Linked DNA regions of Homo sapiens: regions 2, 3, 4, 5, 6 and 7 are each linked to region 1. The links are contacts of gene promoters, found by promoter capture Hi-C in blood cells and fetal thymus (Javierre and others, 2016). All regions are on one chromosome and are shown on one strand. Each heading gives the region's core, a stretch centred on a gene start or on the middle of the fragment in contact. The rest is flanking DNA. Distances are from core to core; before and after follow the strand shown. Region 1 holds the start of TOPBP1 (DNA topoisomerase II binding protein 1). Region 2 overlaps DNAJC13 (DnaJ heat shock protein family (Hsp40) member C13). Region 3 overlaps DNAJC13 (DnaJ heat shock protein family (Hsp40) member C13). Region 4 overlaps DNAJC13 (DnaJ heat shock protein family (Hsp40) member C13). Region 5 overlaps DNAJC13 (DnaJ heat shock protein family (Hsp40) member C13). Region 6 overlaps DNAJC13 (DnaJ heat shock protein family (Hsp40) member C13). Region 7 holds the start of ACKR4 (atypical chemokine receptor 4).

What was found. Contacts are between HindIII fragments. The CHiCAGO score rates a contact against its expected background, and 5 or more counts as called.
Region 2: a contact is called between a fragment that was not itself captured here and the fragment with the promoter of TOPBP1 in region 1, in 1 of 17 cell types (monocytes). The highest score is 6.1, in monocytes.
Region 3: a fragment that was not itself captured here is called in contact with the fragment with the promoter of TOPBP1 in region 1 in 4 of 17 cell types (monocytes, naive CD4 T cells, M1 macrophages and 1 more); the score reaches 7.6 in monocytes.
Region 4: a fragment that was not itself captured here is called in contact with the fragment with the promoter of TOPBP1 in region 1 in 6 of 17 cell types (monocytes, M2 macrophages, neutrophils and 3 more); the score reaches 11.6 in monocytes.
Region 5: a fragment that was not itself captured here is called in contact with the fragment with the promoter of TOPBP1 in region 1 in 4 of 17 cell types (M2 macrophages, monocytes, neutrophils and 1 more); the score reaches 9.5 in M2 macrophages.
Region 6: a fragment that was not itself captured here is called in contact with the fragment with the promoter of TOPBP1 in region 1 in 4 of 17 cell types (fetal thymus, M2 macrophages, M1 macrophages and 1 more); the score reaches 8.6 in fetal thymus.
Region 7: a contact is called between the fragment with the promoter of ACKR4 here and the fragment with the promoter of TOPBP1 in region 1, in 7 of 17 cell types (M1 macrophages, M2 macrophages, M0 macrophages and 4 more). The highest score is 11.0, in M1 macrophages.

The regions. Positions count from the first base shown.
Region 1 is chr3:133,660,368-133,664,066 of GRCh38, reverse strand. It overlaps TOPBP1 (DNA topoisomerase II binding protein 1), which reads left to right and starts at 2,126. Exons shown (of 28, transcript NM_007027.4): 1 at 2,126-2,298; 2 at 2,933-3,023. The coding sequence starts at 2,940. LOC124909487 reads right to left here and starts at 2,841. Exons shown (of 3, transcript XM_047449438.1): 1 at 2,721-2,841; 2 at 2,034-2,554; 3 at 729-1,168. The coding sequence starts at 2,841. The coding sequence ends at 1,019. It also overlaps a transcript of TF not described here. RefSeq lists an enhancer at 1,700-1,769 and a silencer at 2,170-2,339. The HindIII fragment of the contact is 9,162 bases long and covers 2,000-3,699 here.
Region 2 is chr3:132,428,179-132,431,877 of GRCh38, reverse strand. The region is part of intron 1 of DNAJC13 (DnaJ heat shock protein family (Hsp40) member C13); the gene reads right to left. Among named protein-coding and RNA genes, the nearest start is that of DNAJC13, 13 kb to the right of the region's middle. The HindIII fragment of the contact is 1,949 bases long and covers 882-2,830 here.
Region 3 is chr3:132,456,406-132,460,104 of GRCh38, reverse strand. It overlaps DNAJC13 (DnaJ heat shock protein family (Hsp40) member C13), which reads right to left. Exons shown (of 56, transcript NM_015268.4): 11 at 3,525-3,604; 12 at 3,273-3,442; 13 at 2,737-2,836. Among named protein-coding and RNA genes, the nearest start is that of DNAJC13, 41 kb to the right of the region's middle. The HindIII fragment of the contact is 429 bases long and covers 1,380-1,808 here.
Region 4 is chr3:132,487,967-132,491,665 of GRCh38, reverse strand. DNAJC13 (DnaJ heat shock protein family (Hsp40) member C13) reads right to left here. Exons shown (of 56, transcript NM_015268.4): 30 at 3,214-3,368; 31 at 2,645-2,690; 32 at 615-769. Among named protein-coding and RNA genes, the nearest start is that of DNAJC13, 72 kb to the right of the region's middle. The HindIII fragment of the contact is 4,727 bases long and covers 1-3,699 here.
Region 5 is chr3:132,509,342-132,513,040 of GRCh38, reverse strand. DNAJC13 (DnaJ heat shock protein family (Hsp40) member C13) reads right to left here. Exons shown (of 56, transcript NM_015268.4): 44 at 1,797-1,974; 45 at 1-33. Among named protein-coding and RNA genes, the nearest start is that of ACKR4, 86 kb to the left of the region's middle. The HindIII fragment of the contact is 4,957 bases long and covers 1-3,699 here.
Region 6 is chr3:132,531,934-132,535,632 of GRCh38, reverse strand. The region is part of intron 55 of DNAJC13 (DnaJ heat shock protein family (Hsp40) member C13); the gene reads right to left. Among named protein-coding and RNA genes, the nearest start is that of ACKR4, 63 kb to the left of the region's middle. The HindIII fragment of the contact is 236 bases long and covers 1,683-1,918 here.
Region 7 is chr3:132,595,479-132,599,177 of GRCh38, reverse strand. It overlaps ACKR4 (atypical chemokine receptor 4), which reads right to left and starts at 1,908. Exons shown (of 2, transcript NM_016557.4): 1 at 1,855-1,908. All of the region lies in intron 13 of ACAD11 (acyl-CoA dehydrogenase family member 11), which reads left to right. The region is part of intron 39 of NPHP3-ACAD11 (NPHP3-ACAD11 readthrough (NMD candidate)); the gene reads left to right. The HindIII fragment of the contact is 3,278 bases long and covers 902-3,699 here.

The sequences.
Region 1 (3,699 bases), core at 877-3,376:
GAGATGCCGATGCTGCTGGTCCAGACACTACACATCAGAACCACTGCTTTATCCATTTTCCAGGAGTAGATACTAGAGACAGACCCTCTCTGCTTATCTGGAGACACAAGATGGGAGAACTTGCCCCCTAGTGGTGAACTCTTACTCTAAAGACAGGTCACTCCTCTGGTATCAAGTTCCGGCTGGGTAAAAGCTAAAGGGTGCATTTTCTTCATCTTCATTAGCAGCATCTATGAATCTCCTTCTCTTGTGAGGTCTCTACTTGGCCCAGAAATGCCAGGAATGGGCTCCCTCCCCGGTGTGGAACTTCACACAGAGATGGGCAGACAGCACGTGCCCAGGAGCAGTGTGGTGTGTCAGGAAAGGCACGGGCAAGTGACACAGTCCCTGAACTTCACTTTCCCCATCTCCATAACATGAGACAATGATACCCATCTATTATAGGGTTGCTGAAAAGAGTAAACGGGAATAGTGTGAGCAGGAGTCCCATGTTAACTGTAAAGTGCCCTAGAAATATTAATTGTTATTACAGATTCAGGTCAGATTTGCACCTTAACAATTAACTGTGGTTTCTTTTTTTTCCCACCTCTAGTGATTTTTGTTTTTTTGCTTTTAAGGCTTTCTTCACCCTTCCCCCAGCAATAGGCCTTTACCTTTGAGCCCCAGTGTTAATTGATTCTGACTCATTTCTGGTAAAAAAAAAAAAAAAAAAAAATTAATGATATTTATTAAAGCACAGTAAGACAGATTTTATTCCGGACCATCAGGATAGGTATAGCAACCATGGCAATGGGATTCTGAATTAGGAGAGAGAGAGTGGGCTCAACTCTAAATACACCATGGGCAAGTGGGAATTTATAGCCAAGGAACAAAAAGCTTGGGGTCACTGGATAAAAAATTACTAAGAAGGAACTTCAGGAGTAAAGGGGTTTCTTGCTGAAAATAGGTCAAGGTGATCAGACATCACCTTGGATGGTAGAGGATGAGGAACCTGATCAGATATTGAGGGTAGAGGGTTCTAACTGGATTTTCCAAGGAAATGCACAGATAAACCTACGAGAAGGTTGAGGAGTCTGACTAAAGTTTGGCCAAGCAAAGAATCTTTGTCACCTTCCATCGGTGTATTCAAAAACTTAAGACTCAAGCTGCTCATTACTATCTTTAGGCTCTAAAAAGAAAAGAAAAACAAAAACAATCAAGGGACATGGCATTATACTTTTACATTAGTAAATCCAAAGTCATTTTCTCAATCTCAGCAGTGAATAATAAAATGATCCTCATTAGTATAGTGGCTAGATTTTATAAAATAAGAAAAAATTTTTTTAAAAAAGAATAAAATGAAAAGAAGCAACAACGAATCAGTTTTCCGCTGGTTATCACTAAGGTTTGCAGGCCCATCTTATCCCCTCTCCCTTTGCTCTCTGCCATCTGAATCTTAGGTTCAGTCCCAGAATCTCCCCAGTACTGAGGCAGATGCAGAGAAAGAGAACGGCGATGTCCACTGAAGGGGAGGAGGAGGGGAGACCATTGAAGATCTTGACAAAGATCCCTTTGCATTAGCTGTGTAATAAGTCATCCTTTCTTCCCTTGCCATCTTGTGGCTGTGTTAGGCGGTGATTCTATTCCTGCTGTGTTGGAGGGAAACCACCCAGTCCGTAGTCAGAAGACCTGGATGCAGTATTAATTCTACCACCTACTAGCCGTGTGCCCTTGAACCCATCATTTAACTTCCTCCGTTTTTACATCTACAAAATGGAACTACCACTATTTGCCTCACGGAATTGTTTTGGATAATACCTTTTCCCGTGCATGCCTGGTATAAGACAGGTGTAAAATAAATATCTATTGAGGAAATCCTTTCTTTCCCTGGCTTTTTTAACAGTAAAGGAGTATTCCTGGCCTGTGGTCCTACCTCTTGAACCGACGGCGCTGGGCCTACTCGCAGCGGAGACTAGGCCCGCCCAGCAAAGCCCTAAACCCAAAGGGTCCGGCCCAAGCTTTCCCTGAAGCCCCACCGCCCACAGACTGCTCACCTCCACGTTTGACATTTCCGCTCTTCTGCTGCAGCTGCCGATGGCGTCACTTCCACCGGAAAAGGCAAGCGCGGCCGCGCGGTTGGCGCGAAAGTCGGTTCCCGTTCTGGGCAATTTCCGGGTTCTCCAGCGTTTGCTTTGGGGTAGGGGCGGCGCCGAGTCGGGGGAGGGGGCTGTGCGCCGGGCTGGCGCCCGACCCCAGCCACCGCCCTGCGGCCAGCGCGTCCCCCGACTCGCCGCCCGGAGACCCCGAGGCTCCAACGAGGTAAGTGAGGCGCGGAGTGGGGACACAGCTCCTCCCCAGCCCCAACTGGGGTTCGCGATGCCTTCTGTGGCCTTCAGGACCCTCTTTTCCTGTCCTGGTAACTGGCCCTGGAGCCGGCGGGTGGGCCTTTGACGCCGAGAGGACGTGGCTTCCGTGATCCCAGAGCCAGGCCTTTTCCTGGAGATGGGAACCGGAGCATCTAGCCTTATGCAGGGCCAAGACCATGCTAACTGGCTTCCATGTTTATATTTAAAATCTGTTTACTGAGGGATGAACGTACCTCGCAGGCCGTGGGTATCCGCAGGGACAGATACACTCTGTGTATCCTTAAAACAAGTGCAATTGAATGTCCATTGGCCTAAAGGGCTTAGAGCCTTCATAGCAGGGCCTTCCTCAGTGTATTCAATTCGGGTTAATTTTGCTGTCTGATTTGCAAGGATTGGTGTTGTCATCTTTTACCTTGGCTTTGTCCAAGTTCCAGGATTTCTTAGAAATGCCGTTGACGAATTCACGGGCAGAGCCAGAATGTCTGTCTTTAGGCATTCTTGTCTGCACAGAAAAATAGGTAGGTTAAACATGCAACTTTTTATCTAATGTGGTTTTGTTCTTGTTAATGGTTCCTTTATTTTGACAGTTCAGAAATGTCCAGAAATGACAAAGAACCGTTTTTTGTGAAGTTTTTAAAGTCTTCAGACAATTCCAAATGTTTTTTTAAAGCTCTCGAGGTAAGAGTTGAAAACATCTTAATACCGTGAATTCATTTTCTTGTTTTTAAGTGTTTTTGATTTGTTGGGCTTTATGTCTTAGAAGTAGATATTTCACTTTCATAATAATTTTATAGTCTACATTAATACAGATATATCATTATCACATATTTTTGAATTGATCTAAGTACATCATTATGTATTTCGGGGGGCTGGAAGTCTATTATCACATTGCTGTTTAATATGGCTGACCTACAGTTCTTGGAAATTAAGTTGCTTTCATTTGTCTCCTAGCCAGAGTGGTCCTTTGCGTGCTGTAGAAATTTGAGTCAGTTGTGTACTGGTCATACTTGAAAATTTTTTGGTTAATTGTTAAAAATTATGTTTTATTATGTACAGTATAATAATTGGATGATAGTAGGGGTGATGTAGATCCTTGCTTCTCACAGAACCCAGCAGTATCAGCATGGCCTGGAAGTTTCTTCGAAATGCAGAATCTTGGCCTCCAACCCAGACTTAGAATCTGCATTTCTAACAAGATCTTCAGTGTGCATTAAAGTTTGAGAAGCATTTGTAGCAGATTTTTTTAAACTTCATTCATTCAGCAAGTATTTATTGAAGTGTTCATGATTTGATAGGCACTTCTCTAGTACTTGGGATTTATCAGTGATGAGAACAGGCAAAGATTTCTGTTCTT
Region 2 (3,699 bases), core at 607-3,106, 1.2 Mb after region 1:
CATTATACCTCAGCCTCAGCACCTAGCAGCCACTAATCTACTTTGTCACTGTGGGTTTGCTTATGCTGGTCCATACTGCCAAGTAATATTCTGGTATATGGATATACCTATTTTATCCATTCGTCAATTGATGGACACGGGTGTTGTTTCTACCTTTTGGCTATTATGAATAATACAACTATGAACAAGCATATATGAGTTTTTGTGTGAACATACATACTCATTTCTCTTAGGTATATACCTGAGTGGTAAAAACATTTTTTAAAAGATACCCTTATTTTGAAATTGCTGTCTTCATTCGTCCTGCTTGTTTTTGTGTTATTACCAATTATCGAGAGCCTTTGTACTATACATAGAACGCTCACCCCCTGGATATTTATATGGCTTATACCTCTATCTCCTTCAAATCTGTGTTCAAATGTCACCTTTCCAATGATGCCGACCCTAAACATCTTGTTTTAAATTGTAACCACCCTCTCCTCATTCTACTTAAATTGTAACCACCCTCCTCCTCATTCTACCCTATTCCCTCTTACTCTTGTTTTTCCCCCATAGCACTTTCCACATTCTAATGTGCAATTTATTATTCACCTAATTCTACTGGAATATCCAGAGAGAGGTAGTTTTGTCTGTTCAGCTCACTATTGTTTCTACAGAGGCCACAAGAGTGCCTGATACAAAACAGGTGCTCAAAAATAAGTATTTGAGTTAAGGAATAAAATTCAGCAAATACATGGGCAATTCTGATATCTACTTCAAACCTGATGCTCTAACAGGGACTCCCAAATAGGGTTTTGTCAAACCTTCTGGAAAGGCATCAGCAATTCATGCTTTGAAAAATAACAAAAGGAACCACAAGTAACACCAAGTTTAAAGAAGCTTTTATTGTTACCAGAAAGAAGAAATTTCTTACAGTCAACTAACATCTTCCTGCTAGTGAGTATAGGGACAGCTAAATGTAGTCCTGACAGTTGGTATGGTGTTTTGTTTGTCTGTTTCTGGATTTCATACCTGGGATGACCAAAGCACCCAACTAAGATTTATTAAACCCAGTAAGAATTATCCCTGCCTTCTGAATCTTTTGCAGTAAATGATATTGCTGAAAAGAAACCTGGGCAGTATCTCTGAAGACTCACCAAAAAAGGGAGAGAGAGAGATATATAGGTGTACGGATATTTTTCCCCTATATAACTGAAGAGTGGAACAATGGGAAGAGAAAGGCAGATAGAAAAGGTGAATGGCTGATACTGAAGAATGGGGTTTGTATTCCTAGTCTAAACTTAAGATATTGGAATAACTGACTCTGTACCAAGGGCCTATCTTGGGAAAACTGAGAAACAAGAAAATGTGTTGAGTGGAGACTGGTTGATAAAATTAAGGATCTAAAAATTAAAATGAAAGGCAGAGAAAAATAAAGATTTTAAAACGACAACCATAAAAAACACGGGGCATGACCCAGAAGGAATAAAGATCCCTAATAAACCCATAGGGGGGAATAAGAACAAAATAATCTCATAATAACAAAAGAAATATAAGAATTATTAAATAAATTTTTTAAATAATTTAAAAAATAAACACCTAAAGAATGACCTCATAGGTACCACTGATTTGGGGTTATAGAACTCCAACAGACCTTTTGGGACATGAATTAAATAACTTTACATCAAGAAGGCTTTTGAAGGTCTATAAACCTGAAGATGATGAAAGCACCAGACTCCAGAGAGTCCTTAGGACAGATAAAAGGAGTATGAGAAGATATAACACATTAAGATAAAAGTAAACTACCAATGACCTGGCCTATTAGAATAAATATTGTATTCCTGATGCAGATGAGAATGCTGACAGAAAACTAGTGTAGGAGGAAAGTAGTAGTACTTCAGTTCTCCAGAAGTTCATATCATCAGTACAAGTTCCTATGTCCAATATTTGCACACCTGATAATTTTCTGTCTCTAATATTTAAGAAAGCAACAAGTGATGTTTTACTCTGCATCCAATAAAAGGCTAGTAAAATGGGCTTTTTATGGAAGAAAATTGCTCCTCTATTTGAAAAGCCTGTCTTCAACTACATTATATTTATGTAAGGGTATATCTGAGAGGTAAGGGAGGGAAGAGACACCCCACTAACTAGCCAAGTCAACCCCAGAAATAGTGGAATAATTCAATGCTATATTACCATCTGCCTAACCTCAAAATGGAAATCAGGATAATGCTTTTCCATTTTAAAACTCCATTGAAGACTGCCTTTAATAAAGGTAGGGAAGCAAGGTGACTCTAATCTGAAAATTTATGACATGTCCTGAAATTATTAAACAACTTATATTGAATACTCATCACATGTTGGTGTTCAGCCTATGCATTTACCATGCATTTATTTCATTTTGTCCCCATAACAACACTGCAGTACAGGTATGACTCTCATTTTATTGACAAGAAAACTGATAAATCACTTTTCTAAGGTAACACAGCTGGTAAGCGATTGGGCCAGACTTTGGACTAACCTCCTTAACTTCTACACCCTAGGTTCTTAACCTAAACTTTAATACCTTCCCTCAACTTTAAGGAAAAAAAAAAACTTCACCCTGACCATGTAATTACAGATGTATCATTTGACTGCAAATTCCTGGAATAATTCAGAACTAGTTTCGGTTATTATCTTCATCTGGACAGATGATACTTGTTAGAAATAACTTTGAAATCTACAATTTTAAGCAGTAAAACAAATTACCATATTCAACATAGGACAAAAGAAATAAAAATAAGTCTCCAAAGCTGAAATATTCTATCATCTATAAATAAACTTTCAAAATATTTCCTTCTTTATATAAGCTTAAAAAACATTTTTTGGCTGGGCGCCGTAGCTCACGCCTGTAATCCTGGCACTTTGGGAGGCCGAGGTGGACAAATTACAAAGTCAGGAGTTTGAGACCAGCCTGGCTAACATGGTGAAACCCCGTCTCTACTAAAAATACAAAAATTAGCCAGGCGTGGTGGAGAATGCCTGTAATCCCAGCTACTTGGGAGGCTGAGGCAGGAGAATTGTTTGAATCCAGGAGGCAGAGGTTGCAGTGAGCCGAGATGGCACCACTGCGCTCCATCCGGGCTGACAGAGCAGGACTCCGTCTGGGGGGAGGTAGGACATTTCTTGACAAAGTGTTCAAAACAAACATACAATGACAAAAATTTGTTACCAATATATGATCTCAGGATACTCTTTAAAGAGAGTTCAATTACTCTAACCAACATCGAGCTTTTAAAATAACCAGATTGGCTAGGCACCATGTCTCATGCCTGTAATCCTAGCACTTTGGGAGGCTACTGTGGGAGGATCACTTGAGTCCAGAAGTTTGAGACCAGCCTGGGCAACATGGCAAGACCCCCATCTCTATTTAAATATAAATTTTAGATGAAAAAAAGATAAGATAACCAGATAAATGAGATCTGAGGCTGAGATCTATTTCCCGGCAGTGTAATATTAGCCTATCCACATTTTCAGGTAAATCTATTTTACATTCTCAGTAAAATCTTAACTATTGTTTGATAAAGTCATTTCAGCCAATGAATGGCAAGTGGTCTGGAAACTGCATTAACTCTTTTAGACCACGAAGATACTTTTAGACACGCACGTAACTCGCTAATGAAGGTAATGGCAATGCACAAAGATCAGAAAATGTACCAACTATGTATCATTCAAAGTGAG
Region 3 (3,699 bases), core at 345-2,844, 1.2 Mb after region 1:
CGTGATAAGCAGGCAGAAGTGACGATTTACCATGATTTTGATCAGACTTCACAGATAATTTGCCCAACAATTAACTCAACATATACAAAAGGTACTCTCTCAAAAGTCACAGATCTTATTAAAAGGCAAACATTTGCCCACCCAGAATTTTATAACTAAAATTTGAAATAAAACTTAGCATTTAAATGTACTAAAATTAACAACAAATACTTGTCTCAGGGTGATTTTCTTTTGAGTGTATAAAACATTCCAGCGTGATGGTTAGGAGTAGAGCTCCAATCCTAATTTTACTACTGACAATAACTGGGAGACGTTACGCAAGGTAAGTTACTTTACATAAGTCTCTAAGTTTCATTTTCCTCAGCTGTAAAGTAGGAGTAATAGTATTTATGTAACATTACTATGATGCTTAGATGAGATAATTCATGTAAGATACAAAGCCAACACCTAATATGTAATGAGGGCTCAATGTTTGTTTCATAGCATTGTTTCTTACTTTTTTTTATTGTGGTAAACTACATATAACAAAAGTTACCATCTTAACCATTTTAAATTACACTGTTCAGTGGCATTAAGCATTCACATTGTTGGGCAACCATCACCACCACCCATCGCTAGAACTTTTTTCATTTTCCCAAACTGAAACTCTGTAATCATTAAACAATAATTCCCCATTCTGCCTTCCTCCCAAGCCCCTGGCAACCACCATTCTACTTTCTGTGAATTTGACCTCATATAATTAAAATCATACAATATTTATCCTTTTGTGACTGACTTCTTTCACTAGCATCATGTTCTCAAGGTTCATCCATGTTGCAAAACGTGTCAGAATTTCCTTCCTTTTTGTTTCTGCTCATTTAGCAAATACTGTATGTTACTATGGTTAATTGTATAAACTTTGGAGCCAGAAAGTGGGCTTGAAGCCTCCTCTGCCATTTACTAGCTACATGACCTTGAACAAGTTACTTGGGCCTTAAGTCCTTCTCTACAAAATAGATATAACAGTAATAACTTCTAAAGTTCATTGGAAGACTGAATAATATATGAAAAATTCATAGAATAGTACCTGAAACACAGAAAAAAATTAATCATTATTTATTAAACAGCTTGACAAGGCCTGTTAAGGATAAAAATTAAAATTAAACATGAATATTATCCTCAGGAAGCTGACAGATTGAGAAAAATACATCATGTTTAGAAATAGCAATAATTCAAAGAAGAAATTGCTAAGAAAGACAAGTGTAATATTTATGAAGGGTAATCTCACTTCAGGGAGGGATACATCACTACCACCTTCAGGAATAAGAAAGCTCCATTTATTTTTAAAATTTTATTTTAATTGTTGTGGGTACATAGTAGGTGTGTATATTTGGTAAGCTTCATTTAAAAGCTGACTTGAGCTCTTAATGAATAAGCAGGGAAAGAATTCTGAGCAGGGAGAATACATGAAATATTAAAAAATATATACATTGGTCTCCATCCTTGGCTCCTGACATAGAGCACCTAAAACCCTTGCAGACAGGGGCACTAGCAGAATCTTTTGTTGCAACAGTCTTTTACCCTGGTTCCTGACACAGAGCTCCTAAGAACTTTGCAATTTCCTGATAGGGGAGCCTGACACAAAGCTCTCTACCATTAGAATTTCCTGGGTAATAGGAACATCTTTTGTTCGAATAAAGCAACTCTCCATATCATTGTTAAGTTCTAGTTATCTCACTACTTGTTTGGAACAGTAAATAAAATTAATTTGCTTTTGGGAATGCAAGGTTTTACAGAAGTATTTACTTATGTTTATGTACGACTAAGCTTGCCTAAAACACTTTATATAAGGAAAAGTCCCAGGTACTACACACAAAACTGAGATAATCAGAAACTTCAAAACTGTACTAAACAATTGTTTCTCCCTCTGTACAAGCTGCCACTAAGTTAGATCTTTACTGCGCAAACAGCTTTCAGGTGTGCTGCTTCTTTAGCCCTGTGACTACCCTAGCTCAGCAACTCATTTCTTACGTGACAATTTGGTCTACCTGCCTCTAATTTTACTTCTATTCTCCACATACTACCAGTGTGGGTTTTTAAAAACTCAAACCTGATCACATTACTGCTCTCTTGCTAAAAAAAATCCTTCAGGTGTTCCTTACAAAAAGATAAAAATCTAGCTCCTCCCTCCTGATACAGAAGGTTTTTTATTACTGTCTGCATACATCTCTAGCTGCAACTCCTAATTACCCCCCATCCATACCTTATAACCCAACCATATTTAATTATTTGTTGCTTTCCAAACATGCCTTTTTATATGCTATTCCCCACCCAGGAAGGCCTTTCCAGAGCTAGAAAATTCCTGCCTGTCCTTCAAGATTCAGATCAAATGTAACATCTTCCAGAAAGACTGGGTGAGAATCTTTCATCTTCCCCTCATCACCAAACAAAAATAAAGTGCTGCTTTTCAAGATCCTATGGCCCCTACTACCTTACCTTGTACAGATATGCCTACCTTACCAGACTGTCAACAAAGTGAGGAAGAAAAGAACTTCTGTCTTAAGATCTTTGAATTTCTGGCACACAGCACATTGCCTGGTATTTAGGATATGCTAAACAAAGGTTTGAGTAACTATGAGAACAATTTATGAAACAGAAACAAGAACTTATTGGTACAATGAAAATCTGGGACTGTGGAAATCAAAACCACCAGTCAACTTAAGAAAAACCAGTTTCCTTAAGAAAACTACTACTTACACACATAAGGGCACAAAGCATATCAACTGCTGCATGGATTATTCCGTTGTTGCTTCTTTTGAGTGCTTTTACTACCTTCACCCCTAGACGCTCGCGAAACCTTTTGGAACAAAAAACAAGCATATACTAGCAATACCAGAACATTTTAAATTGTTATATTATTGAAATAGATCATATTAACTTTCCATTGCACTACTGGAACAATGACGTATTTTAAATTCCACCTCTGAAATTTATCAGTCTTCATAATAGTTTTTTCTTTGAGAGGGAAAATATTTTTTAGGGTTAACTAAAACTAAAAGGCATGTAATTTCCCATTCAAATTCAAGAGTCAGTTATATTACTGGTGAGTATGGGACCAATATTCCGCTTCTGCTGCCCTCACCTTCCTTTTTCATTTCTCATGAATAAAGTACCATATCACCCTATAAAAGGTATCTGGTTTAGTCAAGGAAAAGGAGGTGAATCGTTCATTATTTGCCATTTTGAGTAGTTCAAATTCTCTAAGAGAAGTTAAGTTTCAGAAGACAACTTACTTTGGAAGCTGAGTGAAAGCCAGGAAACCAGCTTTGGATGCCACAAGCCTCCTCACAGCCTGGAACTGACTCTCAAGTTCCGCATTTGAAGCAACGACATCCCCTTCTTGGGACAGTAATGCTGTTATGGCATTATTGATCAGTTTTTCTTTGTTTTCTGAGAAGAGACCCTAGGTGAAGAAAGAGTATTTCAAAAAAGTTTCCATACCAAAAGTTAGTAACAATGAACAATTATGATAAAACTTAGCTTACATCTTGTGTTACTGCATGTAGGACTCCACTGTATGAAATATTAGCATTGAACCTGAATACAGCATCTGCAAAGTTGCCATCTGTAAAGAGATTAAGAGGTTCAAAAAGAAGATACGAATTCCTAATTCTTAAATTAAGTAGATGAGTGGAAATGTAATTACATTTAAATCAATAC
Region 4 (3,699 bases), core at 396-2,895, 1.2 Mb after region 1:
TCAAGTCTTTTCTGAACAGAAACTGGCTGGGCACTGTTATCTGCTTCTGAGCCTTTCCTTTTTCTGTGTTTCCACAGGTTTCTCCTATGGCATTCCCCCCCAACAAAGACATACCTTAGGAATGCTAACCTCCAGATTAAGGACAAAAGGTGTTGGTAAGGGAGCCCACATTCTAGAATAATTTCGGGTATCTCTGTTCTGATTCATCGATCCAAATTATGTGGGCATAGCTTTTAATTAGTGGGAGTATAGTCCTACTTCCAGATACCCAGAGGTATGTCTTGATTTTACCCCAATTCCCTATATATATATTATCAGTTCATTACCTAAAACCTTACGAGTTCTATAAACTGATTTAAGAAGTACCAGCAGTTGGTAGGCCCTACCATTATATAAAGCTCTATTAAGGTAATAGCAATTTTGTCAAATCTTATTAGAATAGAGAAAACCTTAAGGCCTTATCAAAATCCATCATTTGATTTGGCATCAATGATTACTGTCATTTTAGATTATAAACCTAGTGAAAACATTTCTTTTAACAGAAGTCAAAGCAGATGGCGAGCAGCAAAGACTTAATTATAAAATACAAATCAATCAGTCAACTGGTTATTTACCTCATTTCACTGCTCCAGATTGCTTCTGGAGTATCAAATTCTCCTAGAAAAATCTCAGAAAACTTTTCAGGTTCATAATTTTCTAAGTAACAAACCATTGCTTCAGGTAGAATGTGCCCAAGTATACTTCTCTGAAAAATATCTTGTCCTTTTGTCTTCAAAACAAAACAAAACAAAAGGTAGTCAAAAACACTAAAGTTAACTTTCAATTTTCTAATAAATGATTTATGGTTAGAGAACACTTTAAGAAAAGAACACAATTGGAACAAATTGCTTTTATGCTTTGGGAATGTAGATGGAAACACAGCAAAATGTGAACTGGAAGGTATCTGGTACAAACTGGCTTGGCATGAGCTCTAAGGCAGAACCAACAGCCTCTGGCCCTGCAGCAGTCTTAGCTTTAAGTGTCACAAGCTGCCAATATTATTTAGGACGACTGGCCTTTGACCATGTGTAACAGTAATGGATAACAGAAGGAATATCCCAAGAAGATTTACATCAATTATCCTGCATTATATTGTTGGCTGTAGGTCCCACCTGTACTTGCTTCTGTTTTCAAAAATAAGTTCAGAAGATCATTAAGAGCCTGTCCTCATGAAATGTAGCTAGGATTTAGATGGAGAATTTCTACTTAAAGTAATTATAATTAACTGCTTTGCGAAGTCCATATCCTCTGGCAGGCCAAATGGAGTTAGGATAATGATCATACTAAATTTTAAACTCATTTCTTTACTCAATGGAAATAAAATCCCAAGGGCTAGCTAGGATTTATACAAATAAATGCTTTTCTTATTTCCTTCTAGGCAAATTTAAAGACATTTTACTTCTCTAGGATAAAACAAAGAGACGAGGGAAAAAACCCAAACATTGTTTTATCATGTGGTGCAAAGACAAATTAGAAGATGAATATTTTCAGGCTTTCTGCTAATAAGAGTAACAAATTCACTATCTGTTAAACTTTTGGGTAAAGAATTGCTAGTTGTATTCTTCAATACTATTATTTGGTAATTCATACATCCAGACTTGTGCTATAAACACTGTTTTGCTATAATTATTCAAAATACTGTTAGCTGAAATGATACAAATCATTTCTAATAAATTTGGAAAAAATTACAATATGCATAATGGCACAGAAATAAAGGAAGAAAAAGAATGCCCAAATGTCTAATACTACATGAAGGTACTATCATTAGAGACTTTTTTAACTTGTTTATATTCTCATTTTCTATTTGTAAAAAGCTGTGGAAATTATGCTGCCATGGGCATCTTTAATATTAGACAAATGGGTTACTTTCTAGGGCTTCATTGGCTGCTCTATAAAACATATAATTTAGTGTCTATTGTCAAGGTGGTGCAACATTCCTTGGTTAGTCTTCTCAACAGTGGTCTGGTTTTGGTTTCTTATTCTGCTTGATATGATCCAAAAAAAAATCCATGCTCCATGAAAAGCTGAACATATTTCAAAACACCCTTCAGTTTCATTTTAACAATAAATATCTCTTTGTAAAATGTAGGCATTAAGTTTAGATTGTCAAAACTACCTAAATAAGTTTTTTTTTTTTTAATTCCCAGCTTAACCCCACAGTAAAATGAAAGCATATGAAACATGGAGCAGCTTCAAAAAAGAAACCTAGCACTTCTGCCACTTTGGGATCTGAACAAAAAGGCTGAAGTCTTCCTGAATCTTAGCTGACGATGTAAGACTCAGGTACATAATGAATTATTTACAAAAATCACTAATCTAAACTTTATACAAAGAGAACAACTTATATTCATGGAGGTGTCAGGCTATAGTTCATAGCTGCAATTTCAATATTAAGTCTAATGAGTCAGCAACATTTATTTTCCTTTAAAAATATTAGCTTAGACTTTATATGTGCAAGGTACCACAAACAATGTAAGAACAGAATAAAACAATACCTACCCTCAAGTACTTATAATCTAGTAAACATAATACACAGCTCAGGAAACTTTATAGTGCCAAAACAGCTTACCCAGGGTTAAGTATTCAGAGGATTAACCTGGCTTACCTCTTCTGACTTGAAAGCCTGTTTGGTATGTGTGTATTTCAAAAATCTAGAAAGAAAAATGAATTATCTATCAGATATAGAAACCGATTTAGTTTTTGTAACCTTAGTTTTCTAAAGACTAGATCTTTTATAGCTAAATAAAACTCACAAATGGCAACTCACATAAATCCATATTCCCAAATTATTTAATTTCTGAATAAGGCAAGAACTTAAATGAACTAGAAAGATTTTTAAAGTGTAGTCATATTAAAGCTATGTGACAATATAAAAAAATTATTAAACTTTAAGAAAGCAAAATGTGAAACTGCATGTACAATATGAATATAGTTATATTAAATACATACTTAAATACTAGATAATACATTCTTATGCTAGATGTGGAATAGTGGTACAATTCTGAGTAATTTTCCCCCATTCTTCTGCTTTCCAACTCTTTAGACATGTACTTAAATAGCCTTTACAATTATAATTTTAATAAAAGCAATAAGGTACTCACAAATAATTCAATTAAATCAGTCCATATAAAATTCAAATAATACTTTTAAATAGATTACCCTTAAAGTTCTTACCGAGCAACAGGAAGCACATTGGAACCTGTGTACATCATGATAAAGAAAAATACTCCACTCAGATAAAGGCGGGGTAACTGTGGGTTATCTTGCATGATATGGTATAACAAAATAGCAACCTTCTCAACAAGGATAGGGTCAAAGGTCAGCAGTAGCTGAAAAAAAATTAAAATGTTTTTATTGGGTTGTAAAAAACCTGCATCATCACTTTAGGTTTTTTATTTCATATGCTGAGGTTATAGCTCCTTATGTAAATTATAAAATAAAAACCCATGGGAGTCAGTAAGCTCATCTACCAGACCCACAACAGATTTGAAAAATGATTCATTCTACAACATTTAATGCAGAACATCAATTGAGAATTGATCAAAATGTATTCAGAAAAGCCCAAACATGCCTGAAGCTAGTTTTGTCATAATGTTACAGGTAACATTGCTTCTTGTGCAAGAATCTTCCTAAAAAGACTTCTCGGTTTGTTTCAACTCA
Region 5 (3,699 bases), core at 881-3,380, 1.2 Mb after region 1:
ACTTAAAGTGCCCAATGCATTCACTCTCAGAACCTAGAGAATAAGAATAAAATGGTTTACTTCCAGGAGATGTTTGAAATTATTTAACTTCAGAAAACCGATATACACTGTTGTTTACTGTCAATTTTAAGTCTCTGATAACTGGTTCTAAACATCTGTGACATGAAGTAAGTGGAGGACCTCTAAGGAACAATAAGTCTTAAAAGGCAAAATGTAAGGTGTTAGAGCTTTTTAGGTTTACTTTGTTTTCATTCCCATCCCCACCCCTAACCCTCAGGCTAAGACCTTTATCAAATAAACAATCCAAATATAGCTCAAAAATCTAAAGTGTAAGGTAGTAATTTCACTCTACCTCTAGACCTTAGGGTTACCCCCCTCAACCTAATTATATTCTGGGAGACTCTGACATGATTTGGCTTTTAAATAAGACTAGGTTAGAACTCTGCCACTTAACTATAATACAAACAAACTGGTATGAATATACAAAGCACTCCTTGTGAAAATACATAAAATGAAATGGTATTTCCATTCCTACCCACCTCAAATCCTAATCCCATATATTTACTTCCGTTTTGTTCAGCATATTCTTCCTCTTCTATATGGTAGTAAAACATACAGTGTAATTTCTTATCTTTTGAGGATTCTTAAGATAGCTCAGTAAGACTCCTTCAACTTAAAGAGTCTGAGAATATTCTATAAATATGTTGCTTTTAAATTCATTTTCAAACCACTTATTGATAGGGAATAACTGTCAAATACATCAATGACACACAAACCATACTTCTAAATTACGAGAGAGTTAATTCTAATAAACTTGATGGATATTATCAGAAGGATTTCTGCACAGGCCTTTCTTCAACTCTTTACAAGTTCCAAATCAATAGTCTGCTCTGCTACAATTTCTTTGTACCTAACATACCACTAGTAATATTCGACACTTTGACAACTCCAAATAAAAGACAAGTTTTCTTCAGATTTTATAACACTGTCTTTAATAACATCCCAATGTACATCTTGTAAATGCGTAATTTTCCCAATATTTAATTACTGTTATTTTATTTAAATAACTTTTTGGCAATAACCCAAAAGTCAGAATTTTAACAGTACTTTAATACATACTAAGAAGAGTAAAAATGTACTTGAAAGGTAATGTTCAATGTTATTTTAAAAGATCGAGTAATTTAAATTGAATTTGTATCATTTTAGGTTTATGTTCTATATTTATTATCTAAGTTAGAGTTGAGAGAAGCTGTTACATTTTCACTCATCCATCTCCCTGGAGTCAGGCTAGAGTAATGTTTTTGGAAATGTCCTCTTAAAGATGATTAAGAGTAGGAACTCTCATATCTTTATTTCAATTTTTATACACCAAAAACTTCAGGCAATTTTTGAAAAACATCAGTGCCCATATGCACATGGCACTGGTTAGGGACCAGAAAGGAGGCAAAAATTAGATCACTTATTATTAAATAAATCTAATTCAAGCACTTATACTTGATATGTTAACTTAAGACATCAATGTGAAATTTTATACTATCAAACTATTCTGCCTTTTCAACTCATTTAGACACATGTTCTCATAAAGACATGAATTTTTCTAAACATAGTGCCTTGACCTCTCTCCCCAGCTTAACTTTTATTGTAAAACTATTACAGGGTCAATTCCCTGTAATGTTATATTAATACATTATAACCAAGTATAATTTTCCCTGAGTTTCCCTGATAAAATTGATTATTGGAATTTTTAGGGCTCCTGTATTATACGAGTCTTATTGATCAAAGGTGTAGTCACATACCTGGATTGTATTTTATGACATTTCTCAGAGCCTCCAAAGCCATTTCTACTCTCGGTAAGCGATCTCCATGTTGCTCTGACTCCACTTTTGCCGCGTGTGTGATGGCCATGAATGTGTGCAAGTATTGGGCCTGCGAGCCTATATAATCCAAGAGACTTGCAGCAAATGCTTTTGGAACCTAATCAATGCAGACAAGTATTTAAACAACATGGGTGCCCTAAGAAATAACTCCATAGCAAAAGAAAGAACTTTAAGCTATGAAAGTGAATAAAACATGATTAAATTATACATACACATGAATACACCTATGCACTATAGGGGGGATGTAGAGGGCAGGAAACATTATAAAGTATTTCTCAACTTCCAGAGATCTGATATACTCCCATTAGTATCTTAGTGTAACAATTCTGAGATTAGAATACCTCCTCCCTTTATCAATCGAAGTAACAGATAGTATGATACAGAACTTCTAAAATTTGGTTATATTTTTATAATTAAGTTATATAAAATTTAGAAATTCAAAGGACAATTTTCAAAGGGACGTCACAAGTCACTTAACTCATTCTGCTTAATAGCTATTTACATATATATTACTCTGTGATACGTGATATACATTATGGCATAGTACATTTTTCCTCTAAGAGTAAACTCTAAAACAAAGCCTCACTTCTTTCCTTTTTACAAACAAATCAACCACCAAATCCTCTTTGCCACCTCCTACAAGCCAGGGGCAGTGGCTTGAACCTGTAATCCCAGTTACTTGGGAGGCTGAGACAGGAGGACTGCTTGAGGCCAGGAGTTTGAGACCAGCCTGGGCAAGACAGTGAGACCCGTCTTTAAATAGAAAAAACAAAAAATGAAAGCAAAAACTCCCTATATGATCCCCAAGCACTCAGAAGAAGCTCCTCAGCTGCTTCTGGAAGTGATGAGGAATCATCACAAAAGATGATCTGATGTGACTCCAGTCATCTTCTAAAAAAATCTTTATTTTCAACCTATATTTTCTCCTAATATTGGCCAGAGGAAGCCTTGTGTCTGGTGGTCTGATATCCCTTGTGATGAAATGAGCATGTAACTGGCCTTGTACGTCCATGAAGGACTAGTGAGTTAAAGGCATATAAACATGGCCCAGTGGGATAGCAGTAGGCACAAAATATAAGAAAAAGCTGGGCAAGGAACAACTTCTTATGAATAAACTTCACAAAATTCAATTCTTCAACAATCAAGATAAAGAGGCTCACAAGCTGTCAGTGGTCACCCCATCACAAGCATTTGGTATTATTTCGGTGTAAAGGCACACCTCAGAGATAGTGTGGGTTCAGTTCTGGATCACCAAAATAAAGCTAATTTTTTGGTTTCCCAGTGCATATAAAAGTTATTTTTACATTATACTGTGGTCTATTAAGTGTACAATAGTATCATGTCTAAAAAAAACTACGTGCATACCTTAACTGAAAAATGCTAACAATCATCTGAGCCTTCAGCAAGTCAATCTTTTTGCTGGTGGGAATGTCACCTTGATGTTGACAGCTGCTGACTAATCAGGGTGGTGGTTGCTGAAGGTTGGGGTGGCTTCCCAAAGTAAAACAAAGAAGTCTGCTCTATCAGCTGACTCTTCCTTTCATGAAAGATTTCTTTGTAGCATGTGATCTGTTTGACAACATTTTATCCACAGGAGAATTTCTTTCAAAATTGAAGTCAATCTTCCCAAACCCTGCTGCTGCTTTATCAACTCAGTTTATGTAATATACTAAATCTTTTGTCATTTTAACAATGTTCACAGCATCTTCACAAGATTTCATCTCAAGAACCACTTTCTTTGCTTATCCACAAGAAGCAACCCCTTTTTCTCTTCAAGTTTTATAATGAGATTGCAGCAATTGAGTCACATATTCAGGATCTA
Region 6 (3,699 bases), core at 551-3,050, 1.1 Mb after region 1:
CCTAGAAGCATCTTCACCCTGGCCTCTGTTCCTTTTCCTGTTGTTCCTTCTTTTGCTACTGATTTTCTAGGTTAGGTAATTTGAGGATTTTCACTGCTGAAATTATTTTTTATGAGGCTCTGAGACCATCAGCACCAAGCTGTTCTAGAACCTAATAAATGGCTAAGTGATCAAGGGCCCTGGATAATGAGTAACCACAATTTATCTGCATCACAGGAAAAATTCCACTGAGGCACCTTTAAATAAGCATTTATCATAAAACAAAATATGCCAGGCTAGAGAACCTATGGAAATAGGCAGTCTCATTTAAATTTATCAAGATTGAGTAATCCTACCTAGGACTTTAAAATTTTTACCCCAAATCTTGGGCATGTGACTGAATGACATTTACTCAGCAGCCAGAGAGAAGAAAACGTAGTTTTGGTCATTTTTATCTTACTTTGAAGTAGTAATTAACTCCTTTGTCTTTCCCCATGTCCTAAACAAAATCCACCTAACCTGCCAAACTCACCTAAAGATATCAGTTAGAAGAAAGGGTTGGTGATGTGTGTTGTCACAGCAACCTTGATTTCAATGATTACAGAGGGGCTGGGTACAATCTGTATCTTCTGAAGTTTGGGAGTAGCACGGGGCACATTTTAACTAAATGAAATTCCAATTCAACACAACACTATAAATTCCTGGAGTTCCACATCATGGGATTTTATCATTATTAGAACTACATGCCCCTTTTATCAAACACATGATACACAATACATCAATGAAAAGCTCAAACACAAAAAACATTTGGCAACTCAAGCAATGAGCACACATCAATCCAACTGGCAGTAAATTTACCTAATTTATCTCTTAATTTGCCTACATCATCTGTAGTTAGAGGATGTAGGGCTGACATCTTATATACTACAATTTCAGGCAGACAGCAAGAGTTAGAAGCTTTAATTCTTGAAATAGTTCTTTCATTTTTAATGTAACTTAATTTTTTTTGAGACAAGGTCTTGCTCTATTGCCCAGGCTGGAGTGTGGTGGTGAGAGCTCAGCTCACCTGTGACCTCCACCTCCTAGGCTCAAGAGAGCCTCCCGAGTAGGTGGGACTACAGGCATGCACCAACATGCCTGGCTAAATTTTTGTATTTTTTTATAGAGACGGGGTCTTGCCGTGTTGCCCACGCTGGTCTGGAACTCCTGGACTCAAGCAGTCCGCCCACCTTGGCCTCCAAAATTGCTGGGATTACAGACATGAGCCATTGCACCTGGCAAGTTGGTCCTTTCAAATAGGACAGACTAGAGCTGATGAAAAAATTTCCAGCAACTGACATCGCTAAAAAAGAGCATCCCAGATTGATAACATGCTCAGAATTTCACAATTCTGGGGTCAACAATGCTTACAGCTTATCCAGACTGTTCTACATGGACACGTCTGCAGGCTTCAGTAATGGCCTTCTGGAAGACTCATTATCTCCATGCCCCTTCCTGGTTGGGTTTTATACCATCTCCCCATTTGGCCAGACCTGTACAGAACTTGCTGTCCCTTAAGCCGGCTCAGGGATGGGAAGAAATTTGTATACCCCAACTTTTCTTTTTCCCTAACCTTCTTCTAACCCCTTCACAGCCACTTTTCATATCTCATTCAGAAGCCACCGCATGGATCCAAGTAAAAGGAAAGGCACAGACAAGAAGCTTTTTACTGCCTATACCTTTTCCCTATAGTTACTAAAGCATGTGGATGGGGGTGAGGACCAAATGAAGTCCAGGTTTCTGAAGATAAACCCCTATTTCTTCTGGATTCTAACCACAGACCTTTTGGTTCACACTCTGTAAGTCAAGGACATATGTTTTTTATTTCATCAAGTTAAGTCAAAGAATGATAGATAAGACTGAACAGAAGAATTAGAAGAGGCTTTCCTGTAGAGAAGCTTATAATATACACATTACTATTCTTCAGGGCCAATTTACTCTTAGTTAAGAAAAATAAGGCTGACCAGGTGCAGTGGCTCACACCTGTAATCCCAGGACTTTGGGAGTACCAGGCGGGTGGATCATTTGAGGCGGGTGGATCATTTGAGGTCAGGAGTCCGAGACCAGCCTGGCCAACACAGCAAAACCCCGTCTCTACTAAAAATACAAAAATTAGCTGGGAATGGTGGTGCACACCTGTAATCTCAGCTACTTGTGAGGCTAAGGCAGGAGAATCGTTTGAACCCGGGAGGCAAAGGTTGCGGTGAGCTGAGCTCATGCTGTAGTACTCCAGCCTGGGCAACAGACCAAGACTCTGTCTCAAAAAAAAAAAAAAAAAAAAGAGGGCGGGCATGCTGGCTCACGCCTGTAATCCCAATGCTTTGGGAAGCCGAAGTGGGCAGATCACCTGAAGTCAGGAGTTTGAGACCAGCCTCTACTAAAAATACAAAAATTAGCTGGGCATGGTGGTACATGCCTATCATCCCAAGTACTTGGGAAGCTGAGGCAGGAGAATGGCTTGAACCTGGGAGGCAGAGGTTGCAGTGAGCCAAGATTGCACCATTGCACTCCAGCCTGGGTGACAGAGCCAGACTCCGTCGCAAAAAAAAAAAAAAAAGCCAGGTGTGGTGTCTCACGCCTGTAATCCCAGCACTTTGGGAGGCCGAGGTGGGTGGATCACCTGAGGTCAGGAGTTTGAGACCAGCATAGCTAACATGGCAAAATTCCGTCTCTACTAAAATAATAATAATAATAATAATAATTACAAAAATTAGCTGGGTGTGGTGGTGCAAGCCTATAATGCCAGCTACTTGGGAAGCTGAGGCAGGAGAATCACTTGAATCCAGGGAGCAGAGGTTGCAGTGAGCTGAGGTCGCACCACTGCACTCCAGCCTGGGTGAGAGAGCAAGACTGTCTCAAAAAAATAAATAATAAAATAAAAATAAGGCAGATTTTTTTTTCAATCATACCATCCTTATACAAAAAGTAATGAATGTAATGCCATGAAAACGTGGTATGTGAACTTTTGGACATAGGCTAAAGAGGTAAAGTTTTTATACTGCCTATAAGAACAAACTCCTACTTAGAAGCTATAATTTTAACACCAAATCTGAAGAGAGATATGGGACAGACTGAGAACACAGTCTAGGTATTTTTCTCCATAGATATGAGGGACAGGGGATGGAAAAGTTAAAATAAAAACCTATGACACTGTTCTGAACAGGACATGACCTGCAGCCAAAGCACTGCATGTTTATAAATTTTAGGACTCTGCTCCAACTTTAGGAGTGTCAATATTAAAGTGGTTATGGTGAAGAAAAAAAAGTGTCACACCAAGTTTAAAATTAAAACCAGGTAAAATTTCCTCCAAAGCCTCTAATTTTGAATATTCAAGATAAAGTCTTCATGATCTTATAAACTTCTATACTAGCAATCAAGATTAAAACAATTACAATGGCTTAGAAACCCTGGGTGATAATTTTTTCTCTTAGTTTATCATCTTTGGTTAGGAGAGAATGCAGGGCTGACATCTTTTTATATACTACAATTTCAGGCAGACAGCAAGAACCGCCTCATATTCCTAAGGTTAATTTCAAATTAAGAACTTTTATAGCAGACTAGATATTGCCTCTTTAGCATTCAGCAAGAGTCTGACTTATGTTGAAGCCTATATGAAAATGACTATTCTAAAATTATGCAATTAGTGTGTCAAATGTTCTGAGTTTTAAACATAGTATCTTT
Region 7 (3,699 bases), core at 659-3,158, 1.1 Mb after region 1:
TGAGTCTGTATAACTTTTTGTATTTTTGATAGAGACGGGGTTTTGCCAGGTTGCCAAGGCTGGTCTCAAACTCCTGGGCTCAAGCAATCTACCTGCCTTGGCCTCGCAAAGAGTTGGAGTAACAGGCATGAGCCACTGCACCTGGCCAAGCAGTATCTTTCTAACTGATAGCCTGTTGTTACTCCTCCTCAATACCTCCTTTTCAAAAACGTTTTTCTTACTTCCACCAGAGTATTTGATCTCTAAATTGCCAATCTACCTCTCCTCTGTTTTGTTCCTCATCTGGAAGACACATCTCTTCACCTGAAAGCCACAATCCAAGCTCCTTAGCATAACACCCAAGGCTCCCTTCATAATGTGGTGCCATCCATGGCTCCTGCCACCTCTCCCTACTCTGTGTCCACACTAGAGACAGTGATAGGACTAATTTCTCAGCAGTGGGCTGGCACCCACCATGCAGCAGCATCTGTCTACATCATTGCTCATTCTGTTCCTTTATCTACCATACAATTTCCTGCCCTTCCCTGGAAGGGCCAATTCCTACTCAATAAACGCGGATGCGACCTCCCCAGAAGACTTTCCTGATGTATTAGCAATCTCTACATACCCCTCAGAGAACTGATCCATTCTGTGGAAAGGATGCGTTTCCCATACTACCTTGTTCCTCTAGGTTTTAAGTTCCTCAAAGCATGACCTATTTGATTTGTGTTTGTAAATAAAATCTTGTTAATGTGCCTGGCACAAAGTAGCTTCTCAGTAAATATTTGTCAAATTAAAGCTTTTGCCAACAGGTATAAAGCTGTTACTCTAGAATGGATAGATAGTATGCCAGAAATCTTCTATGTCAACATTGTTATTGCACTATGTTGGCTACTAGCACCCCGTAGTATTAAGATAAGCTTGCACAGAATTCGTAAGTTTTGGAATGTATAAAATAATGACTTTCAGTGTTTTTATTATAGTGCTGAATTTTGTTTTCCTTTTTCTTATCCTTTCTATTTTCCTTGGGTTCTTTTTGTCCTCTGAAGTATCTCAAATATTCTTATAGAATCAATAATGAAAATATTATTTTTAAAACAGTGTGCCAACTTATAGTACATTTTCAAAAGAAATGTTCTTATGTTTGCTAACTTTTTTTGAATGAATATAGCAAAGAAAAGAAGGCTCTGAAGAAAGACACCACATAGAAGAATTGCTTTCATTATGTAAAAACCGGGTGCCAACTTTTTTAAATGACTCTTTTTATCATTAAAGTTACTTAAAAAGTTCCAATCTGGAAGACTACTCTGGTCTTCATGTTCTTATGCATTAATTATTAACACAGTATGAACCTTGTTCTTCCTTTCTCTTTCATCAGAAAATCTTGAACCTGATGATAAGAAATAATATGGCCAAATATTATAATATATTAAGGAAGGGAATTTTTAAGTAAGAATTAATCTTACTAAAAATGTGAGTAAAAAAGAGTAGAAATGGAATTATTTGCAGAAATGATCCTTCCGGCAGATATATAGACACGCTTTTAAGTGTCTTTATAATTACCATGAGAATAAAAAAAAAATCAGTACTTGTAAAAGAAAGTGAAAAAAAGTGGTATAATAAAACCTATTTTCTCCTTAACAAAGTTTTACCGACAAGTAATGGCATTTAAAATCGTATTTTCTTCTTGCTATATTAAGATTTTCATTTAAGGTTAAACTGTACAGCTATTTTCAAGTAACCCTTTTTTTTTTTTTTACAAGTAAGCATTTAAACTTTTATGCATCAAGACTCCATCTATATAAGTAAATATACAAGATCTTTGGGCTTAAAAAAATATTCAAGTCAGAATAAGAAAAGAAATAAAGTACCAACCTGTTGTAGTCGGCAGAGAGGAGCAGTCTTGAGTACAGAGTATAAAATCAAATGACCTAACTCCAGCTACTTTTGTTTTCACTTTACACCCCGCCTTTATCTTGTATCCAAGAAGGCTTTCCTGAAATTTAACCTTGTGAGCACTTGATATTTTATTTCCTGTAAAACCATCTGTGAAGTTAAATTCAACTTCTTAAGTGGTTTAGGTTACAAATTTGAGAAAATCCATCTTTTTTCAAAAACTATAGACCTTTCATAGTTTCCACTTAGTCAAAGGGGACAAGAAAGTGCCTGCAGCTGAGCTACTGACTGCTGAACCAGAAGGAGAATCCACCTGAGGGCATCTAGGCAGCACTTGTAGGTAGCATCTAGAGAAATACTCTCTAAAGTTATTTTGCCTAAGGAAGAAAGCAAATATGATTTTAACCAAGGAAAATATCTTTTTGAAGACTAAATTATCAAAGATTAAATTATAAGTAATCATTAGGTATTTGCAATAGAATTTAACATTTTTATGCCACATCATTTAATATTTATTTAAACTACTAGAGTCTTCCTGGCTTCACTGTACTTTCTCTATCCTTGTCCCAGAGTATTTTCCCATGGCTTTAAACTCTCTTGCTTTCTTGTTACCTTTTTTCCCAAAGCTAGAATATGAACCTTCAAAATCCTTCAGTCTGGGAGGCTGTTTATTTTTTCCACATTTCCACACAAGTAAGTTAGAGAAAGAAGAGAAATTTATGCTGATTTGGCCCTCATGGTCTATTTGAACTTGGCTTTCCTCAAATTTGCATGGCAGTTATCTATTTTTTCATGCAAGGCCAGGCTCAGTCTCCACCTGCAGAAATTATTTCAGACCCATGCCATTTTTTCTATTTTTCTCTTTTTTAAAAAAAAACTTTTAAGTTCAGGGGTACACATGCAAGTTTGTTACACAGGTAAACATGTATCATGGGGGTTTGTTGTGCAGATTATTTTATCACCCAGGTATTGAGCCTAGTACCCATTAGTTATTTTTCCTGATCCTCTTTCTCTACCACCCTCTACCCTTTGATAGGCCCCAGTGTGTTTCCCTCCATGTGTCCATGTGTTCTCATCTTAGCTCCCACTTATAAGTGAGAACATGCAGTATTTAGCTTTCTGTCCCTTTGTTAGTTTGCTAAGGATAATGGTCTCCAGCTCCATCCACGTGCCTGCAAAGAACATGATCTCATTCTTTTTTATGGCTACATAGTATTCCATGCTGTATATGTACCACATTTTCTTTGTCCAGTCTATCATTGATGGGCAAATATTTAGGTTGATTCCATGTCTTTGCTATTGTGCATAGTGCTGCAATGGACATATGCATGCATGTGTCTTTATAATAGAATAATTTATATTCCTTTGGGTATATACCCAGTAATGGAATTGTTGGCTCGAATGATATTTCTGTCTTTAGGTCTTTGAGGAATTGCCACACTGTTTTCTACACTCCCACCAACAGTTTGTAAGTGCTCCTTTTTCTTCACAACCTCACCAGCAGCTGTAATTTTTTGAGTTTTTAATAATAGCCATTTTGACTGGTGTGAGATGGTATCTCATTGTGATTTTGATTTGCATTTCTCTAATGATCAGTGATGTTTAGCTTTTTTTCATATGATTGTTGGCGGTATGTATGTCTTCTTTTGAGAACTGTCTGTTCACATCCTTTGCCCACTTTTTAATAGGGTTGTTTTTAATTGTAAATTTAAATTTCTTATAGATGCTGGATATTAGACCTTTGTCAGATGCATAGTTTGCAAAGATTTTCTCCCATTCTGTAAGTTGTCTCTTTACTCTGTTGATAGTTTCTTTTGCTGTGCA